Regions from separate parts of the Homo sapiens genome. Here regions 2 and 3 are each linked to region 1. The links are contacts of gene promoters, found by promoter capture Hi-C in blood cells and fetal thymus (Javierre and others, 2016). All regions are on one chromosome and are shown on one strand. Each heading gives the region's core, a stretch centred on a gene start or on the middle of the fragment in contact. The rest is flanking DNA. Distances are from core to core; before and after follow the strand shown. Region 1 holds the start of DNM1L (dynamin 1 like). Region 2 holds the start of DENND5B-AS1 (DENND5B antisense RNA 1). Region 3 holds the start of LOC124902913 (a long non-coding RNA gene).

What was found. The method cuts DNA at HindIII sites, captures the fragments that hold promoters and counts their contacts. A CHiCAGO score of 5 or more calls a contact.
Region 2: the fragment with the promoter of DENND5B-AS1 here is called in contact with the fragment with the promoter of DNM1L in region 1 in 1 of 17 cell types (erythroblasts); the score reaches 7.6 in erythroblasts.
Region 3: a contact is called between a fragment that was not itself captured here and the fragment with the promoter of DNM1L in region 1, in 2 of 17 cell types (total CD8 T cells and fetal thymus). The highest score is 8.3, in total CD8 T cells.

The regions. Positions count from the first base shown.
Region 1 is chr12:32,677,343-32,681,112 of GRCh38, forward strand. DNM1L (dynamin 1 like) reads left to right here and starts at 1,959. Exons shown (of 20, transcript NM_012062.5): 1 at 1,959-2,123. The coding sequence starts at 2,022. RefSeq lists a silencer at 2,107-2,516. The HindIII fragment of the contact is 13,395 bases long and covers 1,203-3,770 here.
Region 2 is chr12:31,588,131-31,591,900 of GRCh38, forward strand. DENND5B-AS1 (DENND5B antisense RNA 1) reads left to right here and starts at 1,793. Exons shown (of 3, transcript NR_046909.1): 1 at 1,793-1,989. It overlaps DENND5B (DENN domain containing 5B), which reads right to left and starts at 3,006. Exons shown (of 21, transcript NM_144973.4): 1 at 2,576-3,006. The coding sequence starts at 2,702. RefSeq lists enhancers at 1,527-1,606, 3,587-3,770 and silencers at 2,037-2,376, 2,527-2,796, 2,867-3,156. The HindIII fragment of the contact is 7,998 bases long and covers 1-3,770 here.
Region 3 is chr12:31,650,568-31,654,337 of GRCh38, forward strand. LOC124902913 (a long non-coding RNA gene) reads right to left here and starts at 1,491. Exons shown (of 2, transcript XR_007063269.1): 1 at 1,169-1,491. It also overlaps a transcript of ETFBKMT not described here. RefSeq lists a silencer at 2,481-2,540 and an enhancer at 2,671-2,880. The HindIII fragment of the contact is 369 bases long and covers 1,918-2,286 here.

The DNA of each region.
Region 1 (3,770 bases), core at 709-3,208:
AATTTTTTTGTATTTTTTGTAGAGACTGGGTTTTGCCGTGTTGCCCAGGCTGGCCTTGAACTCCTGACCTCAAGTGATCTGCCCGTCTCCTGCCTCAGCCTCCTGAGTAGCTGGGATTACAGGAATGCACCACCACGCCCGGTTAATTTTTGTATTTTTAGTAGAGACGGGGTTTCTCCATGTTGGTCAGGCTGGTCTTGAACTCCTGACCTCAAGTGATCCGCCTGCCTTGGCCTCCCAAAGTGCTGGAATTACAGGCGTGAGCCACGGTGCCTGGCCTCTCCTCACCTGCTTTAATTCTTTACTCAAATGTCACCTTTTTACTTTGAGGTTTACTTTTACCTTTGGAGGTTTGGAGTAGAGGAGGGATACTATCTGTCTAAAAAGAAAAACAACATTTAGAAATATAACAGTATGGGCCGGGCATGGTGGCTCAGGCCTGTAATCCCAGGACTGTGGGAGGCCAAGATGGGCGGATCACTTGAGGTCAGGAGTTCGAGACCAGCCTGGCTAACATGGTGAAACCCCGCCCCCCACCCGTCTCTACTAAAAATACAAAAATTTTCCCAGGGTGGTGGCGGGTGCCTGTAATAACAGCTACTTGGGGGGCTGAGGCAGGAGAATCACTTCAGCCTGGGAGGAGGAGGCTGCAGTGAGCCGAGATTGCGCCACTGCATTCCAGCCTGGGCGACAGAGTCAGACTCTGTCTCAAAAAAAAAAAAGAACGGTATGAGCAAAGAGTGAGTAAGGCAGTTATCAGATGTCTACTTTGCCAGGAATCAGGCTACAGCAAATAAAGGTTTATACATAATATTGATAATAAATGCCCAGCTCTTCCCCTGTAAAACTCCAATACTCTAAGATTTTTTTCATGAACACCGCCCCCCGCTGCTCCGACCCCTGCTTTTTTATTTATTTATTTATTTATTTGGTAGAGATGAGGTCTCACTATGTTGACCAGGCTGGTCTCGAACTCCCAGCTCAAGCGATCCTCCTGCTTCTGCTTCCTAAAGTGCTGGGATTACACCGCGCTCGGTCCTGAACACACATTTTGTTTGTTTGTTTGTTTGTTTACAAAACCCCTGGAGAACCCGCGTATTCTAACCTGGGCTGGTTTTTGTATTTTTGCAAAATAACACCCCACACATTCTCGTATCAGCGTGCAGATTTTTTTGCACCCAGTTTGGTTGTTTGCGGCCATAAGCTTTTCTTTAAGCCTTTCCAACCCGTCCTTCTAGAGAAAGTGTCTTCATAAGGAAGTCACACTGCTCACGCCTGTAATCCCAACACTTTGGGAGGCCGAGGCGGGTGGATCACTAGGTCCGGAGATCGAGACCATCCTGGAAAACACAGTGAAACCCCGTCTCTACTAAAAATACAAAAAATTAGCCGGGCGTAGTGGTGGGTGCCTGTAGTCCCAGCTACTCCGAAGGCTGAGGCAGGAGAATGGCGTGAACCCGGGAGGCGGAATTTGCAGTGGGCCGAGATCGCGCCACTGCACTCCAGCCTGGGCGACAGAGTGAGACTCCGTCTCAAAAAAAAAAAAAAAATAAATAAATAAAAAATAAATAAAAGGAAGTGACACTGGATAATTAAGAGACACACCATTGCGCCTTTAACACATATTCACACCCAGCACTGTCACATCCATCGTGCCTTGAGGACAGGCATAAATTTACGGCCTTCCTCCTGCGCTCCCGGCCTGCTCCTAGCCTTTGACTAGAGCCTGCGCAGCATCCCAGTCCCAGGCTAGGGCCCACCGGTGCCGCGCAGCCTCCTGGAAGCTGTGGGGAGTAGCGTTCCTCCGCTCCAGAACTACAACTCCCAGCAGGCCTTGCTCCTCTCCACCTCCCTCGCAGCGCATGGCCTGCCGGGAGGGGGCAGGTAGCCGGCGGGCCCGGTCCAATGGGTGCCGGCTTCCGAGGAGAGGGCGGAGGAGAGGAGGAAGGAGGCGAACTGTGGGCCCCGGCCCCATTCATTGCCGTGGCCGGCGGGCACTGGGGCCCCGTGTTTTCAGAGTCATGGAGGCGCTAATTCCTGTCATAAACAAGCTCCAGGACGTCTTCAACACGGTGGGCGCCGACATCATCCAGCTGCCTCAAATCGTCGTAGTGGGAACGCAGGTGAGAGCAGCAGGCGGCGTTCGCTCGGGCCAGACCCCGGCCGCAGGCCTGGTCGGTGCTGCGGCAGTGCCCACTCCCGCGCCAGCGCCCACTCCCGCGCCAGCCTTTGGGGCCTGTGGGAGGAGGGCCTTGCTGGGGGCCCCAGGGCTCTCCGGGCTCTGCCGCACCCGCCCTCCCGGGGCAGCGTTGCATCAAGGCGGAGAATCCGGGGCCCGGCCAGGGGCGGAGCCGGCGCGGCGGGCCTGGCTAGCCCGGCGGGTCCCGGGGACAGGAGAGGGAAGGATGGGGCCGGCGGGCGGAACTGGAGTCCGCTGGGACCGGGCGCGGCCTCGTCCGCGTGCCGCTGCCTCCAAGGGCACCTGGGGGACGCGCGGGGCACTCGGGTCTCGCTGGGCTCGGTGGGCTGGCTGTTCCCATCACTGTTGGCTTTCGTGAGACGGGTGTTTTATTTCCCTCCTTGCCTTGCCCAGGGACTGCGGAGTTAGTTTTGGAATCGCTCTGTTGAGGCTGAGAGACGCTACGGTGCGTGAGCGCCAGTGTTTTCCTGCAGTATAATTCCACCAGGTTTCGAGAACGCCGAAGCAGCATTTTAAAAAAAGAAAAACAAAACGTGTATCTAGAGTTCTGCGGGTGTTGGGAAGGAATATCCGATTTTTCTGCGTAGGCTGTGCTTTTTGTCTTCCACAGTTTTGTGATCGTGACCTAAATTGGGCATCAGTTTCTCTGGTCTTCTCATAGCTAACTCATTTTTTTTTGAATGCAGAAATGTTGGCAAAATAACTGTTATTTCTAGAGTGACAGAGGAGAAGTATAATTTTCCTTTTCTCTGCTACTTCGATTAGAGTTCAGAGAAACGGATTTTAGAAATTAGTATATTGATATTAAGTGCTTTCATTTCTTAATAGTATCTTTTCTATTGAGAAGGAGCGGTTTCCCCATCATTTTCCAGGAGGTACATAGTATAGGGTATAAGTGCTATCAGAAGGAACTTACTGTTCAAAGTATTAGTGGCTATCCAAACACTGGAAACTATAGACACCCTGTACTCGTTTGTTTGTTTGTTTGTTTTTTTGGCTTTTAAATAGTTGAAGCAATAGAAATTGTTTTAGAAACACATTTCCTTGGTCTGCGATAGGATTGGGAAAGATTCTGCTCAATCTTGCCTACGTATTCTAGTATTTGTAACAATATTTGTAATGTTTGGAGACTCAGAAGCATCAAACAAATTACGAGGATTATTTTTTATTGAACATAATTTTGTTCAGTCTGGGACATATAGTAAGTGCTCTGTAAATATTTTGAGTAAATATTGCTCACTCTAACCACAATGTTTTAAAACACTGGGACTTTTATCATCAAAACTAACCTGTTTTTGTAAAAAGTTAGAGATAATATAAATTAAGTCTTTGATAGTAAGTGATTCAGAAGTGTCTTCTAGCTGCACACTAGAAACTTTCCACATACTTTTAAAAGAGAGTCTCAGTGCTTTTTAAGCATGAGGAAGTAAAAGAATTAGGGATATAGTGTGTCAGCATAAATAGTTTAAAATCAATAAGTTGTTTTTTTCTTTTTACACAAAATAGAGTTTATTTTGGTCAGTAAACCTGTTGGCAAAATACAGAGTGGCAGGAGAGAAAAGTAAAGATC
Region 2 (3,770 bases), core at 543-3,042, 1.1 Mb before region 1:
CAAACTAGTGACTGTCCCACTCAGGGTCTTCGCACTTGCTGTTTCTTCTGCGTGCAATGCTGTGCCCCCAGGTGATCCATCTGGCCTGCTTCCTCATGTCCTTCAAGGCTCTGTTCAAATGTCACCCTCCCTGTGAGGCCTTCCCTAACCATCTTATTTAAAATCACAACCCCACCATCCCACCACTCTGCTGGCATGTCCCTAAATCCACTCCCCTGCTTTATTTTTCCTCATAGCACTTATTAACATCTGGAGAACTATATACAGTCGGCACTTCACGTGGACTCCGCATCCACAGATTCAACCAAGCACAGATTGAAAATGTAGTTAGGCCTACAATGGTTGCATCTGTACTGAACATGTACAGACTTCTTTTCTTGTCATTATTCCCTAAACAATACAGTATAACAACTATTTACATAACATTACAACGTAACAGGTATTGTAAGTAATCTAGAGATGACAAAGTGTACAGGAAAATGTTCATAGGTTATATACAAATGCTACAACATTTTATTATAAGAGACTTCAGCATCCGAGGATTTTGGTGTGGGGGACACTCTAGAATCCATCCCCCATGGTTACGGAGAGATGATTGTATTTTCATTATCTCTTTACACTAGAACGTATGCTCCATGATGGCAGGGATTTCTGACTGCTTTCTTCACAGCTGTCCCCAGTGCCTAAAAAACCGACTACAGATAGATGCTTTCAAAACTGTTGGATGAATGATACTGAAATATTACAAGGCAAAATACATTATTACCTGAATACATTAAATATTATGAGAAGCAGAAATCCCAATCACCCACACTCACACAGTTTTGCAAAAAGAGACATCATAGTTTGTTTCTTAAAAATGCATTAAAGTCTAATTGATGGTTTTGTTAACATCATTCTCTCTGTGCCTAAAGAGTCCTAGGTCACACCTAAAAGGTACAGTTTTAGCTTCAGTAGGCAAACGGAAAAGAAAAATACAGGCTTTTTTCCTTTCATTAGTCATCACTGACAGAAGGCCTCCAAGTGACCCTGGTGCCACAAATGTTTAGGATCTTTAGGGAAGAAAGGAGTCTAGAAAAATAACAATATTCCTTCACCAATCTCGAGAAGAATCTCTCCAAATCTCTCTGCAGACATTTTTTCTTCATATCCTTTAACAAAGCCATTCTTAACATGTACATGAAATCTTAGTTGAAGAAACAATGTGATTACATAATTACACATACGGAAAAACTTGGTATTCTATTATCTCTCCAAATTTTTTTTTAACTAAAACTAGACTTACAGTTTTTGTTGAAAATGTTTTGTGTTTCTACCTCCGAAGAATATGAAAAAAAGAAAATGTTTTGCTCTGAAGCTGAGTTAAGAAGAAGATAGCCAAGACGTGGGTTGATGGGGACTGTATTTTAAGGCTGAACAGTTTTGTTTACTATTGTTTATTATTTAATATATTCTTCCCAGTCTCCCCACCCCCACCAAAGGAAAAGCGAAAAATTTACGTTAGTGCAATCAATAAGGAATTATTTGTCCAAAGGAAGTTGTTCTGAAAGGCTATGACCTAAGTCTTTAACACAAAGTTCAGGCGGTAGATGTCACTTCTCTCACCCATTTAACAACAACAACAAATCAAGATTCAGATCCCGCGGAGGCAAGCAGAAAGGAACAGGCGTGAAAAATGAAATCAGTTGTTTCTCCCCGGCCTCCTCTCGACACTGCGCACTCCGCTGCCCTGCCCCCGCCCATCGCCCTTTAGCGGCCCCTTTTAACGGCGTCGTTTGCCCAGCACAGCCCCGCACTGCGCCATCAAATGAGTCAAGCGGAAGGACCGGTACCCCTCCGGGAAAACCAGGCACTAACACACGGTGCACCCAACTGAATTTAAACTCGGGAACAGTGTAGGCAGTGTCAACAAAGCGCGGTGCTGGGTCCCGAGCGTCCAAAGGTCCCTGCCAGCTCCCAGACGCGGCCAAATCCACAGGATTCCAAAAGGTGACTTGGCCGGCACCGCAGAGCGGCAGGCGGCGCAGAGGGCAGAGTCCGACCGGTCCCCGCCCCGCGCTCGCTCCGCACGGCCACCGGCTCCTCCGCGGACGCTACCCCGGCGGGAGCCGAGCTGAGTCCGACTCCCCGTCTCCCGAAGAGGCCCGAAAGCCGCGTCACGTGCGGGGCCGAAACTTCGCGGCCGGGGCCGGGTGGCTGGCGGGTGGGAGGCAGGCACGGCGGTCGGGGGGCAGCCCGCGCGCCCGGTGACTCACCGGCCGCCTCCGAGTGCGGCTGCAAGCGAAGGGGCCGGCGCGCCAGGCGGGGTCCGTGCCCTTGGGGCCACCCCCGCGCCTGTTATTAATAACCCAGCGCCTGGAGGCGAAAGCCCCGGTGGGCGCAGCCGCAAAGCCCGCACGCGGAATAAATAACAATGTCATTAAATCGCGCCCGAGCGCCAGTTCGGCCAGAAAGCGGCGGGAGGGCGCCACCGGGAGCTGACTTTGTCTGGAGCCTGCACCCCGCCTCCCGCGCGTCCCCACAGCGTCCCCCGCGCCCCTGAGGGGGCTCAGCGCCGCCGCAGCCCTGGCCTTACCCGCCAGCTCGTCAGGCTCCAGCCCGCTGTCCGCGTCGATCCCGCACAGCACGAAGTAGTGCGCGAAGCGGCAGGCGGCCGGGGAGGAGCCCGAGCCCGGGCCGGGCGCCGCGCAGCTCCCGCTCATCCCGGCCGCGCTGCTCCAGGGGCCGCCGCCGCCGCCGCCCGGGAAGGCTTTCTGCGGAGGCTGCCACCACCGCTCCGGCTGTGGTCTGTGCGCCCGCCCTAGGGCGACACTGGCGCGCCCATGGCCGCGCAGCCGCCTCTCGCCGCCGCAGCCTGCCTCCTCGCTCGGCGCGGGGGAAGCGGCCGCGGGCTCGCGCGCGGCGGGTCCGGAGCCCGGCCGGGTGGGGGAGGGGCGCGGGGGGAGTGTCGGCCTGAGAGGCCCTCGCAGCCGCAGCTGCGCTCGCGAGCTGAGAGCCGCCGCGTCTGGCGCCCGCGGGTCAGCTGAGCGGCGCTCGGGCTGTGGGAGCGCGGGGCGGGCGGGGGCGCCGGGGCTCGGCGCGTGCGACGGAGAGGGGTGGGGGGCGCGCTCGCGAGGGACGGAGGCGCGCGCTTCTACCGTGCGCGCGCGCCTAGCGGGTTCGGAGGCCAAGCCTGGCGTGGGGCCGCATTCGTGCCCACTGGCCCCGGCTGCGGCATCGAGGGCGACCCTGCACACACCCCTCCTCGCCCTGGCCAGCCGATAAGAGGGCTAGCCTCAGTGTGGGGGTCTGTCTTCTAAAGGGGTTGTCACCCATCCTTATTTCTTTTAATGCAGCTTTGGGGAAGGTGAACAGCCGCTCTGAGATCATTTCGCATAACGGTCTGAACCATCGTCTTTTAAACTGTGACCTGTGTGGGGGTGCCTGTCTCACTTTAAGGTCCTCCCTTCCCCCAGCCGTCACCCCATTTACAGGCCATCCTTAGTGACTTAGTGACAAGTCAACCGTGAGGGGGAAAAAACACAACTCAATACCCACAAAGCGTTGAGACTTCTAGAAGGAGTGCAGTCACCAACCCCCGCCTTCTGTCATTTATCCTGACATTTTCCAGGTCAGTGTAAATAGCCAAGGCGCTCCAGTTCCGCAGCCCTGTACCCATCCGATGTTATCGGCTCTCCCCGCAAGTAACAATCGGAGGCTAAAGCAACAGGAATTAGACCATGAACTCTGCTCCTCCCAAAGGCACGGCTTTCTTGCCCTGCTCAGCTGTC
Region 3 (3,770 bases), core at 852-3,351, 1.0 Mb before region 1:
CGTGATCCCTTTCCAGTAACACTAAGAGGGTTTTGAGTGGAAGATTGAAATGACCTGACCTTTTTTTTTTTTTTTAAAGAATCACTCTGGCTTTTCTGTTGAGAAGAGACCAAAGGAAGCAAGGAGGGATAAGGAGGTTAGTTCAAAGACCTTTGCAATGAAAGAGTTAAGGACGTGCCACCCCCAAATATGCCAGTTTGGCATACTGATTATTTCAAGCTGAAGGTACTTGAGAGACTGTCATTGCAGGAAGAGCTAGCTCACTGTTTCACAGTGGACAGGGTCTATGCAAACCTGCGGCCAAGGAAGCTGAGAGGTGGAAGAAAGAGGCTGACACATCCAGTTTCTTAGGAAGAAACGTTTACTAGGGACTTAGAACAGAAGCCATGTCTGTATCTCAGGAAGCAGTGAGACAAGATGGTGGATCCCCGCACCATTACCCCTCAAACCCAGGGCTTATATACCCCAGGAGAGGAGTGATTCAGAAGGGACGTGGAGAACAACTTAAGTATGATAACATCAAGGCCACTTGACCTAAGGGCAGGATTTACAGTCAGTACGTGCTCTTACACAAGGAACAATAGATAAACTGGAAGTCTTACAAGACTTCCTGGAACTGGCGTTAATCAGAAACCAGCATGGATTAGCATCCAGGATGGAGTTGCTTTGCCCTCCCCACTGACGTGTCCATTCCTACCTTTAGGAAGCCATAAAAATTCCTTTGAGAAAGATGCCTTCCCTTTTTTTTTTTTTCTTTTTTGAGACGGAGTCTTGCTCTGTCGTCCAGGCTGGAGTGCAGTGGCGCAATCTCGGCTCACTGCAACCTCCACCTCCCGGGTTGCAGTGAGGCAACCCGGGTTCAAGCAATTCTCTAGCCTCAGCCTCCCGAATAGCAGGGATTACAGGTGCGTGCCACCACGCATGGCTAATTTTTGTATTTTTAGTAGAGACGGGGTTTTACCACGTTGGCCAGGCTGGTCTGGAACTCCTGACCTCAGGTGTGATCTAGCCGCCTCCGCCTCCCAAAGTGCTGAGATTACAGACATGGGCCACCGCGCCCGGCCGATGCCTTCCTTTAGTAGAAAGAGAAAATAACCCTTATCTCCAGAGACTGGGAATTGATGCTACAATGGACCTATACAGATAAACTTACTAAACGAACACTTACCTTTCACTAGCTTTGCACTTCACTGATACAGGAGTTTAGAAGAAATCACTTAGGCAGATAGTAGGAGTATGGGAATCCTCAGTAAGGCTTTTCTTTTTCATGAAAAGCAGCCCCAAATCATTTTCTAACAAAGAGCATTCTGTAAAGCCGAGCTGCAGACACAGACAAGCAAGCTGGGAGCTTGCACGAGTGAACGCAGGGAGGAACTTCGGAGTACACATGTTCAAATTGGAGGCTCCATCTTCCCTTCCCTTTGTCAGCCACGTGTACTGTAAGGAGCAGACAAGATGGTGTTGATCAACTAGAAAGTCTATTTCCATAATAAGATTAGGGTGGGGTAACCAGGCTTCCCCTGCGCACAGTGTAAACGTCATACCTGATCAAACCAATCTATGAGCCCTATGTAAATCAGACACCGTCTCCTCAGACCTGACTATAAACTTCGGCGCATCCACTGCCGGCTGGTCCTTTCCACTCGCAGATCCATTTCTCTATAGAGAAAGCTGTTTCTCTTTCCCTTCTCTTCTGCCTATTAAACCTCTGCTCCTACACTCCTTGTGTGTGTCAGTGTCCTAAATTTTCCTGGCGCCTGACGACAAACCCCGGGTTTATACCGCAGACAGTGGTATGGTCCCTTCATCACCATATATCTCCTAGTGATTCCCCCGCAATTTACTGCCCCTAGTCCAAATCCCTTTGTCTTATCATTTCTTCATAAATTTATCATTTCTTTGTCCAAAAGGTATAAAAGCTTTCTGTTCTGGCCATTTTCTTCAGGTCGTCGCCCCTTTCATCTTGTGAGAGTCTTCATGTGCAAGTAAAAATTAGTAACACTTGTATGCTTTTCTGTTAATCTGGTTTATGTCCATTTAATTCTTAGACTTAGCTTTAGACGATCCCAAGGGAGTAGAGGAGAATTTATCCTCCCATCAGCAATAATCCAGGCTAGAGATGATGGTGATTTATATTAGAGGAAAGCAATGCAGGTGGTGAAAAGTGGTCAGATTCTGCATAGACAGTGTTTTGGATTTGCTAGTGGGTTAGTTGTGGAGTGTGCACGTGTGTGTGAGAGAAAGATTGAGAGAGAATGTGTTATAGATTATACCAAATCTTTCTTAAGCTTTAAGCCTGAACTATTTATGACCAATGATAAGTATTTCCATCATATCTTACAACTAAAGAAATGTGCCAGGCCGGTCGCGGTGGCTCATGCCTGTAATCCCAGCACTTTGGGAGGCCGAGGCCGGCGGATTGCCTGAGCTCAGGAGTTCGGAACCAGCCTGGGCAACACGGTGAAATCTCGTCTGTACTAAAATACAAAAAATCAGCCGGCCTTGGCGGCATGCGCCTGTAGTCCCAGCTACTCAGGAGCCTGAGGCAGGAGAATCGCTTGAACCCAGGAGGCAGAGGTTGCAGTGAGCTGAGATCGTGCCACTGCACTCCAGCCTGGGCTATGCAGCGAGACTCCGTCTCAAAAAAAAAAAAAAAAAAGGTACCAGTGTGTAGTAACATTGTGGGTGAGAATCTTTGCTCTTTATACATAACTGTTTAAGTTTCAGTTTTGTTTTTGCTTTTACTGTTTTAGCTGAAGCACACTTGGCCGATGTTAAGCTAAATTATCAGTAGATGGCACCACAGTCTTAGTTAGCTGAAGATTTCTGGGTTTTGCAGGGAGTGAGGATTCTAGTGTCAGTTGTCGGATGTTTAGGTGTGACTCAGTGACCTATGCTTAAAAGTTTGCCCGGTTACTAACTGAGGGAGCAACAAGTACAAACTGCAGATAGGGAATTGAAAAAAGGAAACACACAAATTTACACAGACACGGTGCCCATAGATTTGTTGCAAGGGCAGTTTGGTAGAGAGAAGCTAGAAGGAAGCTGAAGCTCCAGAAAACCCAAAACTACAAACTTCCTTCAAAAGTCTAGGGAGAGGCCGGGTGCGGTGGCTCAGGCCTGTAATCCCAGCACTTTGGGAGGCCGAAGTGGGTGGATCACTTGAGGCCAGAAGTTTGAGACCAGCCTGGCCAACATGGCGAAACCTGTCTCTACTGAAAATACAAAAAATTAGCTGGGTGTGGTGGCGGGTGCCTGTAATCCCAGCTATTGGGGAGGCTGAGGTGGGAGAATCACTTGAACCTGGGAGGCAGAGGTTGCAGTGAGCTGAGATAGCGCTACTGCACTCCATCCTGGGTGACAGAGTGAAACTCTGTCTCAAAAAAAATAAAGAAGACAAATAATAGCAAGTGTTGGCTAGGATGTGGAGCAATTGGAGATCTCATACAATGATGGTGGAAATGTAAAATGACACAACTATTTTGTTTTATTTTATTTCTGAGACAGAGCCTCACCCTGTCGTCCAGGCTGGAGTGTGGTTGCACGATCTCAGCTCACTGCAACCTCCACCTCCCGGGTTCAAGTGATTCTTCTGTCTCAGCCTCCTGAGTAACTGGGATTACAGGCACACGCCACCATGTCCGACTAATTTTTGTATTTTTAGTAGAGACACGGTTTCACCATGTTGGCCAGGCTGTTCTTGAACTCCTGACCTCAGGTGATCCTCCCACCTTGGCCTCCCAAAGTGCTGGGATTACAGGCATGAGCCA